4 separate regions of the Homo sapiens genome follow, and regions 1, 3 and 4 are each linked to region 2. The links are contacts of gene promoters, found by promoter capture Hi-C in human tissues and cell types (Jung and others, 2019). All regions are on one chromosome and are shown on one strand. Each heading gives the region's core, a stretch centred on a gene start or on the middle of the fragment in contact. The rest is flanking DNA. Distances are from core to core; before and after follow the strand shown. Region 1 overlaps UBR4 (ubiquitin protein ligase E3 component n-recognin 4). Region 2 holds the start of NBL1 (NBL1, DAN family BMP antagonist). Region 3 overlaps CAPZB (capping actin protein of muscle Z-line subunit beta). Region 4 overlaps UBR4 (ubiquitin protein ligase E3 component n-recognin 4).

Evidence for each region. Contacts are between HindIII fragments. The study calls those that stand out against the background at their distance.
Region 1: a fragment that was not itself captured here is called in contact with the fragment with the promoter of NBL1 in region 2 in 2 of the 25 tissues and cell types used here (adrenal gland and heart right ventricle).
Region 3: a fragment that was not itself captured here is called in contact with the fragment with the promoter of NBL1 in region 2 in 1 of the 25 tissues and cell types used here (dorsolateral prefrontal cortex).
Region 4: a contact is called between a fragment that was not itself captured here and the fragment with the promoter of NBL1 in region 2, in 1 of the 25 tissues and cell types used here (IMR-90 fibroblasts).

The regions. Positions count from the first base shown.
Region 1 is chr1:19,139,277-19,145,624 of GRCh38, forward strand. It overlaps UBR4 (ubiquitin protein ligase E3 component n-recognin 4), which reads right to left. Exons shown (of 106, transcript NM_020765.3): 54 at 5,510-5,631; 55 at 4,704-4,815; 56 at 2,371-2,501; 57 at 2,071-2,248; 58 at 1,512-1,616. Among named protein-coding and RNA genes, the nearest start is that of UBR4, 68 kb to the right of the region's middle. RefSeq lists an enhancer at 97-846. The HindIII fragment of the contact is 3,798 bases long and covers 3,200-6,348 here.
Region 2 is chr1:19,638,975-19,645,610 of GRCh38, forward strand. It overlaps NBL1 (NBL1, DAN family BMP antagonist), which reads left to right and starts at 5,337. Exons shown (of 4, transcript NM_005380.8): 1 at 5,337-5,472. All of the region lies in intron 1 of MICOS10-NBL1 (MICOS10-NBL1 readthrough), which reads left to right. RefSeq lists an enhancer at 4,349-5,184 and a silencer at 5,083-5,422. The HindIII fragment of the contact is 7,978 bases long and covers 1-6,316 here.
Region 3 is chr1:19,360,281-19,365,945 of GRCh38, forward strand. All of the region lies in intron 4 of CAPZB (capping actin protein of muscle Z-line subunit beta), which reads right to left. Among named protein-coding and RNA genes, the nearest start is that of SLC66A1, 51 kb to the left of the region's middle. The HindIII fragment of the contact is 6,424 bases long and covers 1,176-5,665 here.
Region 4 is chr1:19,184,747-19,190,429 of GRCh38, forward strand. It overlaps UBR4 (ubiquitin protein ligase E3 component n-recognin 4), which reads right to left. Exons shown (of 106, transcript NM_020765.3): 12 at 2,695-2,794; 13 at 2,418-2,555; 14 at 1,794-1,911; 15 at 353-540. Among named protein-coding and RNA genes, the nearest start is that of UBR4, 23 kb to the right of the region's middle. The HindIII fragment of the contact is 7,277 bases long and covers 1-5,683 here.

The DNA.
Region 1 (6,348 bases), core at 3,849-6,348, 500 kb before region 2:
CAAAAAACAAAAAAAACCCCTCCTTGGGATGAAAGCATCAAACCACATAGTGCATAGGACACAATGCAGTTTATATATCCTGTCGTCAAAGAAAAAAGGGAGAGATTTGCTTTGCTGGTTAATCACTAACAGGAACAAACACTATACACGGTGCATTGCAAACAGTACTTAGACAGGAGTGAAGAAAACCCAGTTCACTGGGTATTTCCTTCACTGTTTTACATTACAGTGCAAGTAGAACAGTGCAGAGATTCAGTAAGAATCTGTGACATGGACGCTGAGTTTTCTAGCTAAAATGCTTCATGGTCACCATTGTTTAGGTGTTACTGACACCTGCTGAGAGATCTGAAACTAGCCATTACCATTCAAAGCATAGAACTCTGAATTTTAATGAGACTTGTTTTGAAATCAGTCAAGTTTTGCTTATGTTAGGAAATCACTTAGCATGAGCTCTTGAATCAACCCTGTTTTGGTTTTTTTAGCAAGTGGTCCAGAGGGGAGCTCATTGGGAAATTTCACACCTCCTAATCATCCTCATCAGATGCTAATAATGAAGCAAGGAAATTCCCCAGAGACAGCCACAGCATCCAGGATCAGGGCTGAGCTGAGACAGGAGGAAAATGCTGGATGAGATACATGGGGGAGGAAAGCCAAGACAGCCACAGAGCACAGCGGGAACACGACTGGCACAACACAACAGCAACCTCAGAGCCTGAAATGACAGCAACTAAAGAGACCTAAGAAAAGCAACAAGCCATGGCAGCAGGTGGGGCCAGCCGCTCTCTCCCTTTCTTAACTACCCAGGCTAAAACTTCCAAAAGAAAAGAAAAAAAACAAACACAAGGAAGCATCAGTCTAAAAAACTATAAATCAACCCTTAAATTACTCAGGGGTTGACCAGGTATCTCCATTTGGTCCAACTCTCTATTCAGGAAACATTTTTTTTTTTTTAATCAGATTAGGGAAAAGATTGAAAATAAAGAGAAGATGAGTTCTGGAGATTTGCTATAGATTTTAATTGTCCATAAAAACCCTCTCTCTCAAGCTCACAGATCCTGATGGTTGGTCACACTGAACAAGAATTCTGAAGTATAATCTAGCTTCTTATAGCTCTCCTTTTATTTGCAAATGAAGATAAAAAAGGTAAAAGGTATGAGTTCTATTTCTTGTCTCTCTTTTAATACTGTCTAAAATGTTAGAACTCTGACAAAGAACGCTGGAAGCTGAAGTGGAAGCCCTGTAGCTGATCAGCCTGCATGCCGCTCTCTCGGCTTTTCCGTGGGGAAGTAGCTGAAGCCAGGCAGCATGCAAAGTGTGAGGAAGCGGAGCTGTGCGCGGCGGGGCCGAGCCACAGCACTACACCCTCCACACCCATCTTTCTAAAGCCAAGGCAGAAGCAGGAAGTCCAGAATGGCCTGTCAAAGCAGCTGCCCATTACACTCTCACAGCAGTGGAAACAAGGCCTGAGGGTCCTGGGGCCCTGAGCCGTGCTCCTTGCTGTGGACAGTTACCTGATGCTGTGGTGTCAGAGAGGGTTCCTGCGTCCAGAGAGGAAGAGCTGGGTGCCTGGCCGGACAGTCCCAGGCTCTGCAGGCCCAGGGCACTGCTGCTGCTGCCTGGGAAACAAGTGGAGAGTGAGCACAACATCCCCTCCAGGTCCCATCCACAGCGCTGCTTTGGCCACCTGCTGCCCTCAAGAGTCTCCAAACACCAGCATGTGACCCCCTCTGGCCTAGAGGAAGTTAGCTAGCAGCCACTGCTGTCCACCCACCAAGTTCAGTTACAGAGATGGTGGAATGCTTCCTTCAGCTCAGGCAGGACACAGGCTGGAGGAATCTAAGATTCAAGAGGAAATAACCCAAACTGGCAGAAACTATGAGATTGGCACTCAGACTGAAATTCCCACCACATCCCTCTCACTCTCCACCTGTATCTCTGAACAGCTCTCACCCAGATCAACCTCTCCCCATATCTGGGGACAAACTAAGTCAGCTGGATATCAGTAACTGCCAAACCCTCTTTTCCTGTGCAAGGCCAATGGGCCGCTTTGTTCTTGGCATGGCCTTCTACCTTGTTGGTCCTGCTGCAGGCTCAGGGCAATGGCTAGTTCAACCATGGTCTCGTCATCTGCATCAGGTGGGATGTCCAGCATGGGGGGGAAGCCCTCTGCGCCTGCCAGCAGGGCCTCCAGGGGAGAGGGGTTGCCATTGTTGACATTTTCAGCTGTCTCCAGGACCATCGACTCAGACTGCAGAGAGAAAGCTCTGTCAGTGTCCCATGGTAAGTGGTAACTTTTGGAAGTCCACTGAATAAGAGCTAGAGGAGAGTTGTGAAGCTCCTCCTCCCCTTCTCCTGCTGCCAGAGACTCACCACCATCTCAAAATCTCCATGGTCCACCTCACTCTGTTCCTGGCTTTCCTGACGGATGTGACCACCATTCGGGATCCCTGATGACTGCATTTTCTCATCTGCATCATCATCGTCATCATCATCCTTGTCTCCTGAGTCAAAGAAACCCCAGTCACCTGAAGGTGCTTGCTTTCCTCCCTTGGCACATGGTGCCATAAGTCAGGTGGCAACAAAAACCCAAGACAAGCTACCAGCTAGCACCCTGGGCTTTAGCGGGAGAACTCCGGGGTGCTATGCCTGGCCTTGTTCTCTTACTTCTTGGACCTACAGCATCTGGGAAGATGGAGTTGGCTGCGACAGCTTGCCCCCCACAAAAATAAAATGTTCCAGCTGGTGAAGGAAACAAACTTGGATTCCAAAGGGATTTCCATAAAGGTGAGAGATCTAAAACCAGTAGGCCTCCCAAACTCACGCTAACTCTCAGGAGACCTTGGATAAGACAGGAAAAATCATATGATTGGGATCTTTACCTTTTGTCTGTCATGGCAGATTAGAATTTATTTCACTATTTTTTTCTAAAACAACTAGGTCAGTGAGATTTTCACACTACGTAATTACTATGAGAAGAACCAGAATTGAAGTGTAAAACCATTGACTGGAAACCAAGGACACCACTGCAGGTCCTGCCTGTGCCCACTTTTGTGTGAAGGTGAGAAGGCCTTCTAATAAGGAAGATGTCCAGGTGAGACTCCTAATTGTCAGAAGAGGATAGAGACCTCACCTTCCACTCGATGGATTGCTAAAGCTTGTAAATATGTCCGTTAGAAACATAAACTATCTCCACTCTAGGTTCTTGCTAGGGAAAAGAGCCACAAACTGCTGCCTAACCCAAAAGCTTAGGCAAGATAAATGATATGCAAGGAAGATTTTCTGAAAGTCACAAAGTTGTGTACAATCCTCTAGATGTGCACTGTCCACCAGCCACATGTGACTACTGAGCACTTAAAACATGGCTGTCTAAAAGGAGATGTGCCACTAGTGTAAAATACATTCTGGATTCCCAAAATGGTACCAAAACAGGCAAAATATTTCACTAATAAATTTTTTATATTGACAAGATGTAGATATAATATTTGATATACTGGATTAAATAATTAGTAAATCAATTTTACTTTTTACTCTTTATAATATTGCTATTAGAAAATTTAAAAGTACAGGCCGAGCAGTGGCTCGCGCCTATAATCCTAGCACTTTGGGAGGCCGAGGCGGGCGGATCATTTGAGGTCAGGAGTTCGAGACCAGCTTGGCCAACATGGTGAAACCCTGTCTCTACTAAAAATACAAAAATTAGCTGGGCACGGTGGCACGCGCCTATAATCCCAGCTACTAGGGAGGCAGAGATTGCAGTGAGCTGAGATGGCACCATTGCACTCTAGCCTTGGTGACACAGTGAGACTCTGAAAAAAGACGAGAGAGAGAGAGAAAGAAAGAAAGAGAAAAGAAAAAAAGAAAAGAAAAGAAAGAAGGAAGGGAAAGGAAAGGAAGGAAGGAAGAAAAAAGAAAGAAAGGAAGGAAGGAAGGAAGGAAAGAAAGGAAGGAAGGAAGGAAGGCAGGAAGGAAGGAAGGAAGGAAGGAAGAAAGAAAGAAAGAAAGAAAGAAAGAAAGAAAGAAAGAAAGAAAGAAAGAAAGAAAGAAAATTTAAAAGTACATAGTGACTTTCATTTGAAATTTACTTCTAAATCAAGCCAAGTAACCAGAATTATATAATTCTGTTATTCAGACACCTTTTAGAATTGCTTTTACTGAATCGTAAAATGTTATGCCCTTGACTGTATTGTGTATTGTGTATTGTGTACTGTGTATTGTGAGGGAAATTCCTGTGAAATTTGCTATCCAACTTATTGTAGGTAAGTCCACTAAGGATTCTGCCCCTTTGGCAACAAAATGGACATTTAATGAAGAGCTTCTATCCCAAGAAAAGTTATGTTTCTGTTTTGTCTTTGGTCACTGTGATTTTATTTTTGCTATGGCTCTTAGGAAGCTTTCAGCCAAATATAAGACCCTCGCTTACCAACCATGCAGGACCTTTGTGATGTGAATTTTCTGTATTTTGATTTTACTATGGTACTTTTATTTTCCCATGGCCTTTAATCTTTATTTTTATCCTACTTACTATATACATTTTGATGTGCCACCTAAATTCTTTATGGGGTGAGGTAGGATTAGAAAAAAGACAGATACATAAAGTCTCCAGGACCTTGGTCAACATGAGCAGCATGCCCAATGCTACTGTACCTCCCTCTCTCCCCTCCTCCCAAATACAGGCTTGAGCCTAAACCCAGACCTCATATTACCCATTGGAGTGTTGCTTCGAGGGGAAGAGGGTAAAGTCACATGTCTCCGTTTGTTCCTGGGCCTTAGGACTCGAATTAGAGCTTGTTTACAAGAGAAGCTCACAGCAGGATCCTGAGGTTTAAAAGGAAACTGTCACGCTTTGCTCTCATATTATTCATGAAACTCTCTATAAAACACTTTCCTTTCTTGGTCACTCACTCACATGCAAGTGGAATACCTCTCTACTCTCACCTGCAACCCAGCGGACCAAGTTCAGCAGGTTAAGTTAATCCCCGCTTCCTGTTCTGGCACACATTAAGAGCCATTCGCTAACCTCCTGTCTCTCAGTTCCTGGGGATGGACTGGCAGGTCATTTGCTCCTGAGGCCATTTTGGCCCCTTACAAATGGTTCTGGCTTTTTATCAGATGATCAAGCCCCCAGCGCACGTCTTAGCTCTGTGCTAAAATCAGTAGTTTTAACACTTAGCTTCTGTGAAAGGGTCACTGGAAATAGAAATCTTGATGTACTACTTTCATTCATGTGCTCATTTAAGTCACAATTCACCGAGTTACCTAGCACTTACTATGTAGCAAGCAGTAGGCTGTCCCTGGTGATTCAGCACTGAATAAGAAAGACTGAGCCCATCCCCTTTCCAAATCTTTCTCTTCCATGGAGTAAGATCTTAAAGCTTTTATTGATATTTGAAACTTCATTCCCTTCAGCTTCCTCTAAATATATTTTATTTCATTAGCTTAGCAAGCTAAAAACAATTTTCCAGATATTCCCTGGCTGCTGCGAGCTCTCTGGGATTGTAATGCTACGTACAGGACACAAGAGCATCTGCATGTAGATCTTGGATGCTGTGTTAATACAATCCAGCTCACAGGTACAGTAGCCATGGATGATGTCCACCAGAGCATTGACAGTAGCTTCAATATGAGTTAGTCCTAAAGGAGAGACAAACATTATTTGAAAATCTGGAGGAAAAAACTCTAACTACTTGAGAGTCTGAGACAAAAGTGTAACCTTTTATCTCCATGTAAAAGGTCATGCAAACAAAATGACAAACACTCACATACACACTCATTCACACACAGTAGCCTGTATTATTTATGATTTGTTTCATTAACAGTTTCCTAAACTCCCAAATTGTCCTCAAAAGTCTTTCCAGATATCTTGAGTCACAGAAATAAGTAGCTGTCCACTCTCTCTGGATATCAAAAGACAAGGCAAGGAAATATGAAGAGGAAGGCAGATACTAAATGTTCCCTAATATCCCCCAACCTCAGGTGATGACAAAACATGACCTTGACTTGCCTTTTAGGTTTACCACCCAAATGTCCTCCAAACATGAATGAGCACCAGGATCATCCTACTTTTCTATATTGCTATTCAGACCCTTTACTCTTCCATCTGAATTTTCAATAGTGTAAGAAGTTAGAGACCAAATAGCTTAGAAATAGAATAATCCTCAAGATACTTGTGCCTTTTGAGCTGGCTTTAAGCCAAGTTGTCAAAGATTTTTAAAAACAATTATAAACCACTGAGACACACACACACACACACACACACACACACACACAGTGCCTCTTTATGTAAAATATTCAACCCCGATGAAAAGATATGGTAGAAGAAAATCCCACTCTGCCACACTGCTAAATTCC
Region 2 (6,636 bases), core at 4,087-6,586:
GAGTCCACCTCAGACAAACAAACAACCCACCATAGTAACTACCACTTCCTGAGAGCCAAGCGTGTGCCGGCTCTGTGCCTCACATTCACGTCTCTCAGTGAATTCTGGGTGATCCTGGGGATGGGTCCTATTACAATTCCTGTTTTCCAGATGAGGAAACTGAGGCTCAAGAGATGCATTACTGGAGTAAGGTGAGAAAGCTTTGTGCTGAATCCTGGATTTGATCCAGGGCATCTGACTCCAGCACCTTTCCTGAGCTATATATATGAAACCTCCCTGAAATAGCTTTCATTTTATGGAGCACGTGCTATTTTCCAGGAACTGTGCCGAGAGCTTTGCATCCATTTATCTCCTTGAATCCTTGCTCCATCTCATTATAATCTCACCTTAAGTGTCACCTCTTTGCGACGTTTTCTGAGGCTTCTCAGTGAGTTCATACCTCCCCCATCACATCGCCCCCTCTGGCTTAGTTCGTTCATAATACTTTTTCTCCTTTTTTTCTTTTTTTTTTTCTGGAGACAGAGTCTCGCTCTGTCACCCAGGCTGGAGTGCAATGGTGCGATCTCAGCTCGCTGCAACCTCTGCCTCCCAGGTAGCTGGGATTACAGGCACGCACCACCACACCCAGCTAATTTTGTATTTTTGGTAGAGATGGGGTTTCACCGTGTTGGCCAGGCTGGTCTTGAACTCCTGACCTCAGGTGATCCACCTGCCTCAGCCTCCCAAAGTGCTGAGATTACAGGCATGAGCCACCACGCCTGGCCTCTCCTTTTTTTCTTTTAAATAAATATTATTATGATGATTATTTTTCGAGACAGAATCTCACTCCATCACCCAGGCTGGAGTGCTCTGGCATGATCTCGGTTCACTGCAACCTCCGCCTCCCAGGTTCAAGCAATTATCCTGCCTTAGCCTCCCAAATAGCTGGGATTACAGGCACGTACCACCACACCGGGCTAATTTTTGTCTTTTTATTAGAGACGGGGTTTCACCATGTTGGCCAGGCTGGTCTTGAACTCCTGACCTCAAATGATCCACCCAACTCGGCCTCCTAAAGTGCTGGGATTGCAGGCGTGAGCCATCACGCCTGGCTCTTTTAAATAAATATTAAACAACTGAACCTGGAACCTTCAGAACACATTGGTTATGTGAGATCCACTCATCTGTTTATCTGTTGCACAATCTGCCTGGGTGTGGCAGAACATAAGCTCCTTGGAGGCTGGGACCTTATTGGTCTAGTCTGTTGTTGTGTCCTCAACACCTCTGTGCATGTCTGGCACATAACAGGCACAATAAGTATTTGTTGGATAAATGAATGACTCCAGACAACAAATCTATGGAGTACATAGCACTACTAACTGCATTTTACAGATAAGGAAACCAAGGCCCAGGTGTGAAACAACTAGCACAGAGTCAGAGGGCGATGCAGGAACAATGTAAACCCTGAGCCTCCCCTGATGAGTCCGAATGGCTCCTCCCAGCTCCATACCTGGAGGTGTGAACGCTCTCATCTTTATCATAAAAAGAGAGGGACTGTGTACCAACCCTCTGTTCAGTGGGCTGGACTGGGAAGACAGGCCTTTTGCTTGTTTTCATTCTATTTCTCCAGCGAGAGTGCAGAGGTTTGGACCCCCGTTGAGGCCAGACTGACAGGATTAGAGGAAACAGCTGGGCTGAGTCCGTGCCCTGCAGGAGGGAGCTCACATTCCCGGACTCTGGGAGAGAGCAGCTCCCCACAGCTCAGTCACATTCCAGGTCGGTCATTTTCCTGAGCCCAGATGTTTGCTAATGAGCTGGGGAGAGGGGCTTTTAGCCCTGAGCCCCAGCTCTGGGCCCCACATTACCTCGGCCCCAAGAGGCTGGCCCAGGGCCAGGAGGCTCTGGCCTCAGGCCCATGCCCTGTGCCAGCCAGGCCTGTAGGGGCAGCTGGAACACCACTGCCAACCAGGTGCATCTGCTCGAGCTGGGACACTCTGACGTGACAGGTTCTGCCTTTCCCGCTGGGGCCCCTGGGGTCCATCTTCAGTGCAGCATCCCTGCTGCAGCCTGATGGGGAGGAGCACTGAGGCAGCCGAGAGGGTGGAGAGGGTGTGGTGGGCAAGGAAGCATGGACTTTGGTGTTGACAGGTCTGGGCTCAAGTCCAGGCTTTGTTAATCACTAGCAATGTGGTCTTGAGCAGGTAATGACACATTTTGGTGCCTCGATTTTTCTTACCTGTAAAATGGGAACAATGATGGGACTGTGGTAAGGATTAGAGGAGATGAAGCAGACAGAGTGACCAGCATAATGCCTGGCACAAAATGGGTAGATATTACTACCAAGTTACTTCCCAGGCCCCCTGCCCACACTGTAGCTTTCCCGTCACCAGACAGATGGTGACTCAACTCCAAACCCTTTGTCCCTGATTAGGGGGTTGGTGTTGTTCTTGAACCTCCCGGTGTTTGAGAGATGGTGGGCTGCCCTGTCAAGGGCACTGGCTGGAAGTTGTGGCTTCTACTCCTGGCTCTATGTGTGATCTGACCAGCTCATCAGGCTCCACAATTAGCTTTCTGCAATGTGGGAGTGGATTCTTACAAAATGTAGAACTCTACTTTCTACCCTGCTCGGGGTCTGCATGAAAGATGGCGGGGGTAAGCTTTGGCTGCAAAATGGTAAATATTTCCTGAGTGTCTACTGTGTACAGTGCAGTGAGGCTGGTTTCTGCCGTACATGGTATATAGTTATCCAACAGACACTAGCTGGCATGGGCTCTTACTGTGTGACTTTAGGCGAGTTACTTAACCTTTCTCTTGACGTTCCTTTTTTCACTTTTTTTTTTTTTTTTTGAGACAAGGCCTTGCTGGAGTGACAAGCTCATTAGGTTCCACAATTAGCCTTCTGCAATGTTGTCCAGGCTGGAGTACAGTGGCACAATCATAGCTCACTGCAGCCTCAAACTCCTGGGATCAAGTGATCCTCCAGCCTCGGGATTTTTTTCACTTTTATTATTTTATTTGTTTGTTTGTTTATTTATTTATTTATTTGAGATGGAGTCTCACTCTGCCTCCCAGGCTGGAGTGCAGTGGTGCGATCTCGGCTCACTGCAACCTCCGCCTCTCAGGTTCAAGTGATTCTCCTGCCTCAGCCTCCCGAGTAGCTGGGACTACAGGCACACGCCACCACACCTGGCTGATTTTTGTATTTTTAGTAGAGAGAGGGTTTCGCCATATTGGCCAGGCTGGTCTCGAACTCCTGACCTCAAGTGATCCTCCTGCCTTGGCCTCCCAAAGTGCTGGGATTACAAGCATGAGCCACTGCGCCTGGCACTTTTAAAACAGAGACAATACTTACCTCATAGGTTTATTGTGAGAGTGGCAACAGCTTGCAATGGGATGAGGCACATGGTAAGGTGCTCAATATGTGTGAACTATTATAACGGTCATAGTTACCATTAAGGGAAGACCTATCTGTGCTACATTAATGGGGGATAATAATTACTTTATTCGCTGGGCGTGGTGGTTCATGCCTATAATCCCAACACTTTGGGAGGCTGAGGCGGGAGGATCACTTGAGGCCAGGAGTTGGAGACCAGCCTGGGCAACATGGCAAAACCCCATCTCTACTAAAAATACAAAAACTAGCTGGGCGTGGTGGTGGGCGTCTGTAATCCCAGCTACTCGGGAGGCTGAGAATTGCTGGAACCTGGGAGGCAGAGGTTGCAGTGAGCCGAGATCACGCCATTGCATTTCAGCCAGGGCAACAAGAGCAAAATTCTGTCTCTAATAATAATAATAATAACAACAACAACAACAACAACAACAACTTCATTCAACCAAATACATTGTACATCTCACCTGGCCTGCCCATAAGCAATGGAGACACTGAAATAAACACGATTCCTGCCCTCAAGGTCTAATGGAGGAAAGAGATGTACACAGCTATTCTAGAGGGAAATTGACATGAACAGAAGTTCTCATCCTGTGCTCCAGGATCACACTGGAGGAGGGAGATGCTCCCAGAGGGTCTTGGGAAGGCTTTCCAATCTGGAGCTGGAAGAATGTTTGCCCAAGAGATGTACACAGTTATTCTAGAGGGAAATTGACATGAACAGAAGTTCTCATCCTGTGCTCCAGGATCACACTGGAGGAGGGAGATGCTCCCAAAGGGTCTTGGGAAGGCTTTCCAATCTGGAGCTGGAAGAATGTTTGCCAGAGATGAAAGGAGGGGAAGGGAATTCCGGGCAGAGGGAAGGGCGCAGGCAACAGCTAGGAGGCGCAGATGCAGGCTGGGTGTGGAGGGTGCGAGTAGGCTGGAGTACACCAGGGAGTTCCCAGCAGGCCACTAGGAGCCACCCAGGATGCCCGGCAACCTCATGAGTCAGACAAGCAGGGCTGTGTCTATCTGGAAGTTTCCAGCCAAGCTAGGTAAAACACATGGACACAGGTAACTATGCTGTAAAGCAAAATCCCCAAGTCCTACAATCGTGTCCCAGTGGTGTCCCTGGGCCACCACTTTCCAGAAGCAAAGTTATTTTCTCACCCCGTTGTTAAGCACACAGAATAGAGAAGGTACGGCCGCAATCCACCCAAGTGCCCACTGATTAGATAGGAACCCCCGAGGTGAGGCTGGAAGCTGGGGCCAGGAGCTCCACTCTTCCCAGGAGTCAGAGAAGTGAGTTCATTTGCTGGCTTTTTAGTTCCTAATAAGTCCCTGGGGCTTTTCGGGATGCTTAAGCCAAGGGCGTGGGGCCGAGAGCGACACTAGGATAACACTAGGCAAGGCTGAGCAACCCAGGCTACCAACAGCACGGACTTGAACCGGGTCGCATGCCGGAGCGGACGGGATGAGGTGCACCGCAGAACTGGGGACTCCTGGTGCCGGGACGCGGCGGGCTGGGGCGCCCCACTCTCGGGGCAAGTCTGCAATGCCCGGTGCCCACAAAAAGGACACATCCATCTTTGTCACCCCGAGGCCTGGCACGGCCTGACGGCCCAGGCTCGGTAAAAGTCGGGCGGAGAGAGTGGAAGCGCAGAGAAACCCGGGGAGGGCGCTTAAGAACGGGCCAGGGCGCCCGGCTGGGCTGCCCTGCCTCTCGGGCGCCGGCCAGGCGTCCCGGCCGCCCCACCACGCCGTCGGAGCGCGCCGAAGCTCAGCCCGGGGCGGGCGGGCCAGGAGAGGGCCCGGGGCCCCTGCCGCCGCGGCGCCCCCTCCTGCGCACCCGGAGGGAGAGGCCGCGCGCGCCCGCCCGCTCTTTCTGCGCGCGGCCCTCCCCGCTGCCCCCGCCCTCGCGCCCTGTTTGGAGGGAGCCACCCTGACGTCGGAGCCGCTCCCCCGCGCCGCGCGCCCGCCCGGGGCCGCAGACAGCGCGCAGCGCAGCCCAGCCGAGCGTCGCGGGGCCGCCCCCCGCCCTGCCGGCCGCCTCGCCGAGCCTCCTGGGGCGCCCGGGCCCGCGACCCCCGCACCCAGCTCCGCAGGACCGGCGGGCGCGCGCGGTAAGTCCCGCCCGGGTCGGCACGCGGGCGCCCGGCTTCCAGAGGCTTCGGCCGCGGGGGCAGTGCCGCGCCCCCAGCCCGGAGCTGCGTCCCCCGGCGCGTCCGGCGGCCGCGGGCACCGGGTGGAGGCGCCGCCGCCGAGCTCAGGAGCCCTGGGGGACCTGGCGGGCGCCTCCGGACGCCGGCGCTGGGGACGTGGGCGCGGCACGGGGTGGCCGGGGGGCACCGCCGCGTCCGGAGCCCGTCCCCAGACTCGCCCCAGGGTTCCGTTTCTGGATCGGAGTTTCCGCGGCCGGGGGAGAGAGGGAGCGAGGGAGGGAGATGCGTGGCCGGGCGGGCCGGGCTCGCATGTCCCCCGGCCGTGCCCGGGCCTCGCCGCGCCGCGCCTCTCGGCTCTGGACGTTTCCGCCTCCCGCGGCCCCCTCTGCTTCGGTCCCCACGTCCGTGTGTCTGTCTCTCCGTCGCTCCGTTTCCGCCGCTCACTTTCCCCTGGTCTGCCCGTCTCTTTCCGTTCCCCGCCTGCCTCCGTGTTCGGCTGCCCGCGTTTGTGTCTCTGCCTCTGGCTTTTCTCTCCCTCTCTCTGTCTCTGCGCTGCCCTCTGTGGGGGTCTCGCCCTGTGTCTGCGCCTCTCCCTGATCCCCCGCCCTCCGATCCAGACAATCCCCCAGTGTCGGAGGCTCGCCTTCCCCCAGCGGGGTTCACGAATAGTTTCCTAGACCGGGTGCGGCAAACCCTCCCCCTGCCTCCCGCCGGCCCCGAGGCCTGGCCCGGGTCATCTCCCTGGAATTGAGTCTGGGGCAGGGAGAGCCAGCCTTTCCGGGGGCTCAGTTTTCTTAAGAATTCCACCCCCGCGAGGCCGGCTGGACGACAGGCCCTGCTGCGGGCCACCTGCCCGGCCCGCTCCCAGGGCGGGGCGATTCTGATCGTTTACAAGCGGCGGCAAAGGGGGCAGCCGCCTGCCTTGGCGTGGCCGGAGGTTGGCGGGCATCAAGGGAGAAAGCCACACTTCCAGGCTTTCGGAGGCCCTCGCTCCCCAAGCTGGACGCCACCAGCCTGTAACTAGGGGCACCCCAGGAAAACAGAGGTCAGGGCTGGAGGCCAAAGACCGGGCGCTGGCGGGGAAGCAATTTGTCAACAAGGAGCCCCTCACCCTTTGTTACTGCG
Region 3 (5,665 bases), core at 3,138-5,637, 280 kb before region 2:
TTCAGTCGGCTTACAGGGAGAGCAGCCCCACATCAAAAGAGGGGGAAGAAAAACAAACAAAAAAACCCTACTTTGCTGGCAAAAAGGATGGGCCAATAATCCGTTCTTTCCTTCAGCCCTTCTGGAAAGAAGGCTTGCAGCCCAGGGGCATTTCATCCTTCCACTCCTTCACAGATCCATGCAGAGCTGCGGTGCTGTGCCTGCCCAAGGCTTGCTCTCCTCTGTGTGCTGGGACACTGGGGAGATGCAGGTCAGGATGCCCTGGAGGGGAACCAGGAGAAATCCCGATGGCCTGACAGCCCTTGTCGACACCCTCCGGTGACCAGTTCAAAAGCACCAGGTGGCCCACGGCTGCTTCCCCTCAGTCCCATCCCTGAGCGTTTCATTTCTTCCAGAAAAATAAAACAACCGCATTAAAGTTTTATAGGGTGGAACTGGCCGTTTCCACTCCAATGTCCCACCCTGTGGCCTGGCTCCCACTACGGGCAGCTTCTCCTTGGCGGGCCACGGTGACCAGGTCTAAAGTTTCAAATGCTGGAGCCAGGGGAGGTAAAAATGCAAGCTCAATTGTCACTCCTTGTGGGGTTACTATTCTTTTACCCACAATTTTAAAACTTACTGCAGGAACATTATTGTTTTTTAAAAAAGGAAATCTGAAAATTAGCCCACAATGCCATAAATCAACTTATCCCATAAATCTGATTTTTCCAAATTCCCTTCCAGTCCAGATGCATGACTTTTATATAACTGTAAGCACAGCAAGAGTACCATGCTGAATTTGGCTTTTTACACTTGGCACAGAATCATTAGCATTTTTCCATGGAGCCGCATGATCTCCATAATCATTTTTAACAGCAAGGATAGTATTCAGTCGGGTAGTATCCTAATTTACCATCAATCTGACTTTTAATAAAGAAACAACGGCGACAGAGTTAGAGGCGGCGTGGTCAATCTCTCACTTCGAATCTGTTCCCTCTCTGAATCGGGGTGTTCCAACTGAGGTGAGTCAGACGTGCTGAGACCTGGCCTCTGCAGGTACAGCTCAAACACTACAATAATTCAAGAATGGACTTGCATTCCATTCACCAAAAGGGATCTCCAGGGACTGGAGCAGCCACAAGTCTCAACCTGACATTCCGAGACAAAGGGAGCAGAGGACTGCATGGTTAGAAAGGCCTGTTTCAGAATTGCCCAGAAGCACCAGCCTCTCCTGCGAGTGCCATCAGGGCGCTCCGGCACCTTCAGGAGGGAGGTGACTGCAGGGCGCACAGACAGCGCCCCCGCTACATGGTTTATGGCTTTGCTCTGCGCGTGAAGCATTAATTAAAGGGGGACCACAACACGTTTTTGAAAATTTATTTCTTACCTACTGTACTTTGATCATAATGATATGAAACAAGGAAAAAATAATTTTTATGTGGTTTGCATTTATGAGTTTTTACATAAAGGCTTTTGTGGGTATTTTAAGAATGTGCTAAAACGTTGTCTGAAACCACATAAAGCCATCTGAGGAGTCGCCCGCCAGAATTAACAGCACATACATGGAAGCAGTTTAACTGGTCTTTGTATATTTAATGAGTCAAATAGTATTAATATTGTTTAAATGCTAACATGCTATTTCAATAAGGTGGCTCTACCATCGCCAGCGACTCACTCTCAGGCCTTGTACTTCCATGTGAGTGAATGATCAAATGTGGCCAAGCGCTGAGAGCAGGCTGCAGAGGAATTAATCCGCCCTGCCCTGGCCCCTGCCCATGCCTGATAATTTCAAAATCTCCCAACTCTGCAGGGAGGGAGGAATGGGCCCAGGACTCACTACCACAGCTCAGCTGATTTGGGCTCAAGAGGAAAATCCCAGAGAGTCCCTGCAGTGAGGTCTCTGGTCAAGGAGGTAGAAGGGGGAAATTTTTATTATATTTTTTTGAGACAGAGTCTCTCTGTCGCCCAGGCTGGAGTGCTTTATTTTATTTTTTTGAGACAGAGTCTCGCTCTGTCGCCCAGGCTGGAGTGCAGTGGCATGACCTCAGCTCACTGCGACCTCCACTTCCCGGGTTCAAGTGATTCTCCTGCTTCAGCTTCCCAAGTAGCTGGGATTCCAGGGGTCTGCCAACATGCCTGGATAATTATTGTATTTTTAGTAGAGACTGGGTCTCACCATGTTGCCCAGGCTGGTCTCTAACTCCTGGCCTCGGTCTCCACTCAGTGTTGGGATTACAGGCGTGAGCCACCACGTCTGGTCAAGAACCTCTTTTAAACATGCAGGCCTAGGACCAGGCGCAGTGGCTCACACCTGTAATCCTAGCACTTTGGGAGGCTGAGGTGGGAGGACTGCTTGAGCCCAGGAGTTCGAGGCCAGCCTCTATAAAAAAAAGAAAAAAGAAAGAAAAAAAAAACCGTGGAGGCCCAAAGAGAAATGCATGAGCTTTTCCTAGGCTTCTTTCCTAAATGGAAAGCCAGACAGCACGGGCAGCACAGGGCTGAAATCAATCCCCACAGTCAAGAGGCTGAATGACATGCTCAAATCAGAGCTCCCCAGTGGCCAGGACAACACAGGGACTAGCTTGCAAAGACTGCAGAGAAGTCAACTTGGACAAGTGTTGAACCATGAAGTGGGGGGGCCTCAGAAGCTCCAGGAAGATGAGGAGGGGGTGAAATGACAGACCAACTTGGGAATGACTGGGAGCAAAGTGCTGGAGTCACCTGTTTGCTTGCGTCCACTGAAGAGCTAACTCTTTCAACTGAGTGCCATCAGTTTTACCAACGGTCCCGGCGCCTTTTAAGACTTTCCTAACACAGATTAACATCTTGTTTTGTTTTTTGAGACAGGGTCTTGCTTTGATGCCCAGGCTGGAGTGTGGTGGTGCGATCACCGCTCACTGCAGCCTCGACTTCCTGGGTTCAAGTGATCCTCCTTCCCCAGCCTCCCAAGCAGCTGGGACCACAGGCATGCACCACCATGCATGGCTAATTAAAAAAAAAATTTTTTTTTTTTTTTTTTTAGAGACAGGGTCTTGCTATGTTGCCCAGGCTGGTCTCAAGCCGTTTATCAGCACAGCCAATTACAATTAAACATCTGGTTGGGTTTTTGTCTATCGTCACCTTGGTCCCTAAACGTGGATCAGCTAAAAGCCTAATGTGTCAGTAATTCTCTTCTTCTCAGAGTTTTAGGTCGTTTCTCCCTGAAAATCACTCTTCCAGTTGAATAATGTCATAGTCACGGATATAGATTCTATGTCCGTAACTTTTCAACCACAGGACTTCTGGGGGGAAGGAGAAAAAAGGGAAAACATAATACTTCACACTCAAAATGACCTAATTCACAAAAGTAAAAAGAAAAGAAAATGTTTCAGCTCCAAAAGCTTTATGGAGTGTCTGAAGCTGAGGTGTGCGTGGGGTGGAAACGTGCTCGGGGAATCTGAGCTGTAACTATGAATGACCCAATTCCCAGGCCTGGCCAACACGGGGCTGCAAATCTAACAGGGAAAACGGGAGGGGAAGAAGGGGCTTTGAAGCTGCTCTTTACTCCTTCCTTTCACATCACCTCCTGGGAGAAGAGCTGGATTCGTGGCTCGAATACAAAGGCTCCCAACAGATAATGAGTACATGCCACATGCCACAAGAACCAAGGCCAGGACAGACCTGCTGGGAGCAGGGCTTTCCAGCATGAGCCAAGAAACAGACTCTGTGGTTCTAGGGTTCACTGAGACATGTCCTTCTGGCTATTAGTGGGCTGGGCCACACTCACAGGACTTGGACCTCTGGCCTGAGATACCTGTGACGCTGAGGCACAGGCAGCAGCCAAGTTAGGGGCATTATTAAGGTGAGCTCCATAGGTGCTGGAACAGGGCTTTCTCTTGCAGTCAACTTCACTGAATAAAGCCAAGGGAAAGGCAATATTTGGCACCAACACAGTGCAAAAGACTTTTTTCTTATTTGTAAAATCAAAGAGCTGGATCAGAGGCCAGCGTAGAGGGTCCTCCCAGTTCTGACATTCCAGGATTTGGTGGTTGCATCAGGGCCTGTATGAGGCAGACTGAGCACCACAGGGCAGGTTCCTAACATCTTAGTCTCTGTCAAACTGCTGCTTACACACCTCCAGTGACAGTGAACTCATTACATTCCTGAGGCAAACATTTCTGTTCTGAACAACTGAGACAGTTCTCTCTGGACTTGAGTGAAGACTTCTCACTACTGCCTTCCAGAATCACAAAAAAACAAGGACTTCATGCCCTTTCCTTGCATAGTCCTTTCAAACATTTAAAACTGGCTTACACCAAGATTTCTCTTTTCTGGCCTTCTCCTCCTTGTAATTCCTCATACGACTCAATACCTTGTTTATCCTTCTGAACATACTCCAGCTTGTCAATGTCCTTCATAAAAGAACAGAAAACAATGCCCCAACTAAGTGTTAACCAATGCATAGCAGGGACCAGCACATCTCTTGGCAAACAGGCTACTCCTCCCTCCAGCACTCAAGACCAAATTAGCTTTCATTAGCAATCACACCTAATCCATGCTACACATACTGAACTTGCAGTCATCTCAAATGGAGTATTTTTTCTTTTTTTTTTTCTCTCTTTTTTTGAGACAGGGTCTCGTTCTCTTGCCCAGGTTGGAGTGCAATGGCATGACCATGGCTCATTGCAGCCTCGACATTCTGGGCTCAAGTGATCCTCCCACCTCAGCCTCCTGAGTAGCTGGGACTACAGGTGCATGCCACCACACCTGGGTAATTTTAAATTTTTTTGTAGAGACAGGGTCTCGCTATGCTCAGGCAGGTCTTGAACTCCTGGGCTCAAGTAATCTTCCCACCTCGGCCTCCCAAAGTGCTGGGATTATAGGCATAAGTCACCGTGTACAGCTGAATATTTTTTCTTATGTGTTGCCATGAAAATACCTCTCACATCCTGGACTTGAGAACTTGGTAGACTGGACCCAAGAATATCACTTTCCACTCAAATCTGTGACAGATCACTCTCGTAGACATGGCTTCAACATTTCAACGTCTCTTTTGGGATCCCGAAGCTGTTGTGATCTGTATTCTATCCAAGCCACTCTTCCCCCGAAGTCTTTATGCACAGGAATATACGTGAAAGCAGGAGACTGTGCAAATGAGGATGTCACTGAGTTCCAGATCGCGTGGATTTCCAGAAAGAGCACGGGCAGCCCTAGTGAAGGCTTCTGTGGAGAAACTGATGGTCCACCAGGAAGGAGGGCTCTGGTCTGGGCACTTTTTTCATGTTGGAGTCAGTATAAAGATGGAAACCAGGCCGGGCATGGTGGCTCACGCCTGTAATCCCAGCATTTAGGGAGGCCGAGACGGGCAGATCACCTGAGGTCAGGAGTTCGAGACCAGCCTGACCCACATGGAGAAGCCCCGTCTCTATTAAAAAAACACACAAAATTAGTCGGGCGTGGTGGTGCATGCCTGTAATCCCAGCGACTTGGGAGGCTGAGGCAGGAGAATCGCTTGAACCCGGGAGGCAGAGGTTGCGGTGAGCCGAGATCATGCCATTGCACTCCAGCCTGAGTAACAAGAGTGAAACTCCGTCTCAAAAAGAAAAAAAGAAAAAGAAAAGATGGAAACGCCCACAGCCTTGATGAGGCAGAAGTAGAAGGGAACACAGGAGGTGGGGCTGGCTGGAATGCCGGCTGAAGAGCTCAG
Region 4 (5,683 bases), core at 2,363-4,862, 460 kb before region 2:
TCAGACCTATGCTAAGCACTTTATAAATAGTCTCTCTTTAAGATGTCACAACACCTTTAGATGCAGGTACAATCACTCCCATATGATAGGAGACAAAACTAAGGCTAGAAAAAATTCAGATTCTTGCCCAAAGTCACAAAGCCATTAAGTGATTCTAAAGGCCAGCAGAGAAACAGTAACAGTCACGTAAGTTATTTAATGACACATAATCAAGACATATAAGTCCTAAGCAAAAATATCTTTAAACATTACAGTTATCCAAGCCACAAAATGTTTGCATTCAAATTATCTGCTTCTCATACCCCTAGCTCCCCATGTCCACTTCCCCTAAACCTTAGAAACCTACTCTTACCAACTCAGGATCTTTGCGACTCGCCAGAATGTTGCCCTTCTCACCAGGGGCCTGCTTACTGGGGCTTTTAACCCGAGGAGAGCTTTCCAGTGGAGGAGGTGGGGGAGGAGGCGGAGGTGCTGCTTTCTCTTTACTGGGAGAAATAGTCTCCTCAAACCATTGCCCCAAAATAGGCTCACTGTCATCGTCTGAATAGAGAAAGATAAAGTAACGAAAATAAATATTTTTTAAAAGTGTTTTTGGTGCATCTGCTTCCTAAAAGTACTTAAGTCAAAAGGAATACAAGGATATCCCAATTGTGATGATGGTTACAAGATTGCATTTGTGTATCAAAACTCATCTAAATGCATACATAAAATAAGAGCAAAACTGATCATCAATAACTGATTCAAATGTTTGGATAGATTCAACCCGTTAAGAATTTCTCACATTATTGCATGTAAATTATACCCCAATAAAACTGATTTCTTTTTTCTTTTTTTTTTTTTTTTTTGAGAGGGAGTCTCGCTCTGTCACCCAGGCTGGAGTGCAGTGGTGCAATATTGGCTCGCCGCAACCTCCACCTCCCAGGTTCAAGCGATTCTCCTGCCTCAGTCTCCCGAGTAGCTGGGACTACAGGCTACAGGCATGTGCCTGGCTAATTTTTGATTTTTAGTAGAGATGGGGTTTCACCATATTGGCCAGGCTGGTCTCGAACTCCTGACCTTGTGATCTGCCCACCTCAGCCTCCCAAAGTGCTGGGATTACAGGTGTGAGCCACCGCGCCCAGCCAATTTTTCTTTAAGGAGCCCAACAAAGAAAGAAAAACAACTTCACATTATTTTACTGGTAACAAGCCAAATATTTTCAAGAGCGAATTTATACTTGCCTTATCAACCATAAATCACAGGACGGTAAGAATCACACCTCCCTTCGTATTTCACATTGTTCCCACAAACCTGATTATGAAAGAATCTGAGGTACTTACCTTATTCATTCTCTCATCAAACTAAGGCAGGAGGGCATGCCAGTGGGTTCACTACAACAGGATTAGGTTTCTCTACTCAAGCTTCCCTAAACTATGACTATGATAACATCCAAACCGAACACCTCACATGTGACCTTTTGAGTTTCACTGAGAAAGCTTAGAGCAGAGGTCACAAAATGAGTCAACACAGGAAGAAATATGGAACAATTGAGATGTTTTCTGATTTTGGAGGGAAAGGAATGAAAAGTAACCCAGGCTTGGCTGAAAGTTGTTTCCATCATTCATTCATCAACAGCTCAACTTGCTCTTAAATAACATGTCATCTTTGAATGCACATAAAACCAAGGTCCAGGCTAAGCAGGTGAAAACAAAATGGAAACTTTTGTTTGGTCAGGAAACTACAGGAATCTGCTGAGAACACTCCTGTTGCACTCTATAGCTTATCTCTGGGAGAGAGAAAAGAGCGGCCTCTACCTTGGCTGCTGTCCTCCTCCGTGCTACTGAAATCGTCCTCATAGTAAGTATTGGAGTCGGTGGAGGCGCTGGCATCGCTGCTCATGGAGCCCTTCCTCTGCCGCTGCAGGACACATGCCTAGGAAAATGACAATTACAAAACCGGAGCCATCCTATTTAATCTCATGCATCGCATGAAAACTTTCTCCATAATCTCTTTTATTTTTTCCTAAATCCAAGAGTATGCCTCTTAATAGCTCCCTTAATTAAGGACTTTCATCACTTTACCCTACAAAAACACTACCAACCAGAGACGTGGACAAGAATTGAAAACAGGAGTGTTTCCATAGTGTCCTCTATGCTTCTGCTTCAGTATGCCAATCATCACAAATCACCAAGTAGCCACGTGTATCACAAAACTGATAATTAATAACTGATTCAAATGTTTGGATAGATTCAACCCGCTAAGAATTTTTCACTTCTTCAACACCAGTACCAAAACTTTGGGTCTATAAAGGTCATGGTGTGTAGTCAGTCTTATTCATTTCAAGAAAGTTTTATATATATATATATATATACATATATATATCATATATATAAAATGAGACATTCTTCTAAATTATCAATGGCTTAACTCCCACCCACCTTTCTGTAGGAAGTTGAAAGTAACGTCAAGAGCAGGTTCATCAGTGGGACAGAGTCAATCAGCCGTTGAATCCTCTGTATGGAGGTGCTCTGGGCCATAATGCTCAAGGCTGCAGGGGGGCCATCTGTCTCCCAACCCTGAAGGCAATGATATCAAAGGGCAATTAATGATACTACTCAGCCAGAAAAAACAACTTGAGTTGATGGATCAAGCTTGCTTGGCCAGAAGTGGATCCCGCAATCAATATGCTGATTACCATGGGGATAACCTCCTCACCTTGTGAAGGGCCTCCACTTGTAGGTCTTGAAAGAGAGACGTTAGCAGTTTGATGGCATGGTTTGCCAATATTACTGAGAGTACCCCAAATCCCTGATGCCTACACAAAGAAAAAGGAAAACACAATCCTTAAAATAATTAACAATAAATTACAACTTCTGAAGCAGTGGATCTTGCCATTTTGGGGTTTCAGACCCCTTTCAGACTCTGTGGACCTTCAGAAAAAAAAAATTGTACATACATACATCTGCATATAATTTCTGAAGTTCACAATCTCCTTGAACCCCATCCACAGATGGCCTAAGGATCTGCAGGCTTCAGGTTTAGAACTCCTGGACTAGGCTGGGCACGGTGGCTCACACCTTAAATCCCAACACTTTTGAGAGGCCGAGATGAGAGGATCACTTATGCCCAGCAATTTTAGACCAGCTTGGCAACCTAGAGAGGGAGACCCTGTCTCTACAAAAAAATTAAAAAGTTACCCAGGCATGGTGGCATGTACCTATGGTACCAGCTACTTGGGAGGCTGAGGTGCACCACTGCACTCCAGCCTGGGTGACAGAACAAGACCTTGTCTCAAAACAAAAAATTAAATAAATAAATAAATAAATAAATAAATAAATAAATAAAACCTCCTGGAATAGAAGAAACTCCCAAATGGAAAAATTTTTGGAATTTAAACAATCAGTTCAAGGCTAATGGGTTATACAAAGATGCTGACTTTTAAATGTAGATTGAACTTTTAAAGAATCATTATTTTGAAAAGAAAAAGGTTTGAATTACCAACTTCTATAAAATATCTGGAAACAAATCTAAGAGAATAAAAAGAGAGGCCTGGAGCAGTGGCTCATGCCTATAATCCCAGCACTTGGGGAGGCCAAGGTGGGAAGATCACTTGAGCCCAGAAGTTCAAGACCAACCTGGGCAACATGGCAAGACCCCATCTCTACAAAATATGAAAAACTTAGCCAGAAGTGGTGAGGCACACCTGTGGTGCCAGCTACCCAACAGGCCGGGGCAGAAGGATCACTTGAGCCCAGGAGGTGGAGGCTGCAGTGAACTGTGTTCATACTACTGCACTCCAACCTGGGCGATAGAGTGAGGTTTTGTTTAAAACAAAAGAGAGAAAAGAAAATTACATTCAAGTAAAGTGTTTTCCTCCTGTCCAAAATCTCCACATAACAAAAGGTTAATATATATGATTTGCAAGTTCATATAAATCAAAAAGAAAAAAGAACAAACACAGGCCAGATGCGGTGGCTCACATCTATTATCCCAGCACTTTGGGAGGCCAAGGCAGGAGGATTGCTTGGGGCCAAGAGTGCAAGACCAGCCTGGTCAACACAGCAAGATCCCATCTCTGCAAAAAATTTTAAAAATTAGCTGGGCATGGTGGTGCACACCTGTAGTCCTAGCTACTCAGGAGGCTGAGGTGGGAGGATCACCAGAGCCCAGGAGTTCAAGGTTACAGTGAGCTATAATCCTACCATTGCACTCTAGCCTAGGAGACAAAGTGACTCTACCTCTGTAAAAATAATAATAAAAAAATTAAAAAGAAAATGACAAATACCAAAAAGAAAACCAAGGCAAAGGACATAAGGCAGTTTACAAAAGAAATACAAATGACCAATAAATAGGTGAAAGGAAATACAATCACATTAGTAATCAAAGAAATACAAATACATGAAATATCATAGCATTCTCTCCTCTAAGACAAGCAAACATGAAGACTAATGATGCCCATTGTCAAAGAGAGCATGGGGAAATGGGCATATAAGCACACAGCTGGTGTCAATGCAGATTAGTGTTACTTTTCTAACGAGTAGTTTGACAAAACATTTCCAATGTTTAAATATGTGAGCCCTTTGTCCTAACAACGGTACTTTTGGGAATTCATCCCAACAGGACAATTAAGTTCCCAAAAGTTTATATTTCAGGAAGTTATCAAAACAAGACATTTGGAACAATCTAAATAAGCGCTTAGCAATAGGGGAATTAGGCAACTACGGTATATTTACATAGTGGAATACTGCTGGCCATTAAAAACTTAGACATTTTAATAGTGTCACTGAAAAGATGATGCAGTATTTCATATACACTGATCCCATTTTTGTAAACTTATATATATTTTATATGTGCACAGAAAAATGTCTGAAGGAATGTTTACCAATTTGAGTGGTAGAATTTGGGATCATTTTTACCTTTCCTATTTATGTCCATCTGTATGGCTTGTCACTTATACAACATACATGTATTCTTTTAAAATATGAAGAAACAACAGCCATTTTAAAAGCATAACTGCTACTTCTAAGGATATACTTCTTGGCATTCTTTCATTTCCCTTTACAATGCCAAGAATGAAAATGGCCACTCATAAAATCACAAACTACCGTTTGCTCTGGAACACTCTTACCTCCTTACTTCGCCTAGTATCTATCAACTTACCATGTCAATACCGGCTTCAGATTTCAGCTTAATTAGCAATTCCTTGGGGAAGCCTGCTCTGATGTCCCTAGCCAGGTCAAATGCCCCTGTTCTAATACTCTCTAGATACAATTTGACATGGCCAGGCAGATTGGCTCATGCCTGTAATCCCAGCACTTTGGGATGCTGAGGCAGGCAGATCACTTGAGGCCAGGAGTTCAATACCAGCCTAGCCAACATGGCGAAACCCCAACTCTATTAAAAATACAAAAAAAAAAAATCAGCTGGGCATGGTGGTACACACCTGTAATCCTAGCTACCTGGTGGCTGAGGCACAAGAATTGCTTGAACCTGGGAGGCAGAGGTTGCAGTGAGTTGAGACTGCACCACTACACTCCAGCCTGGGCAACAGAGCGAGACTCTGCCTCAAAAAAAAAAAAAAAAAAAAATATATATATATATATATTTGTATGGATACCTAGTTCATGTCTCTTGAGAATATGTCCATTTTTATGTTCATCACAGCAATCCAGAACTAACACAGAGCCTGGGACACAGAAGATGC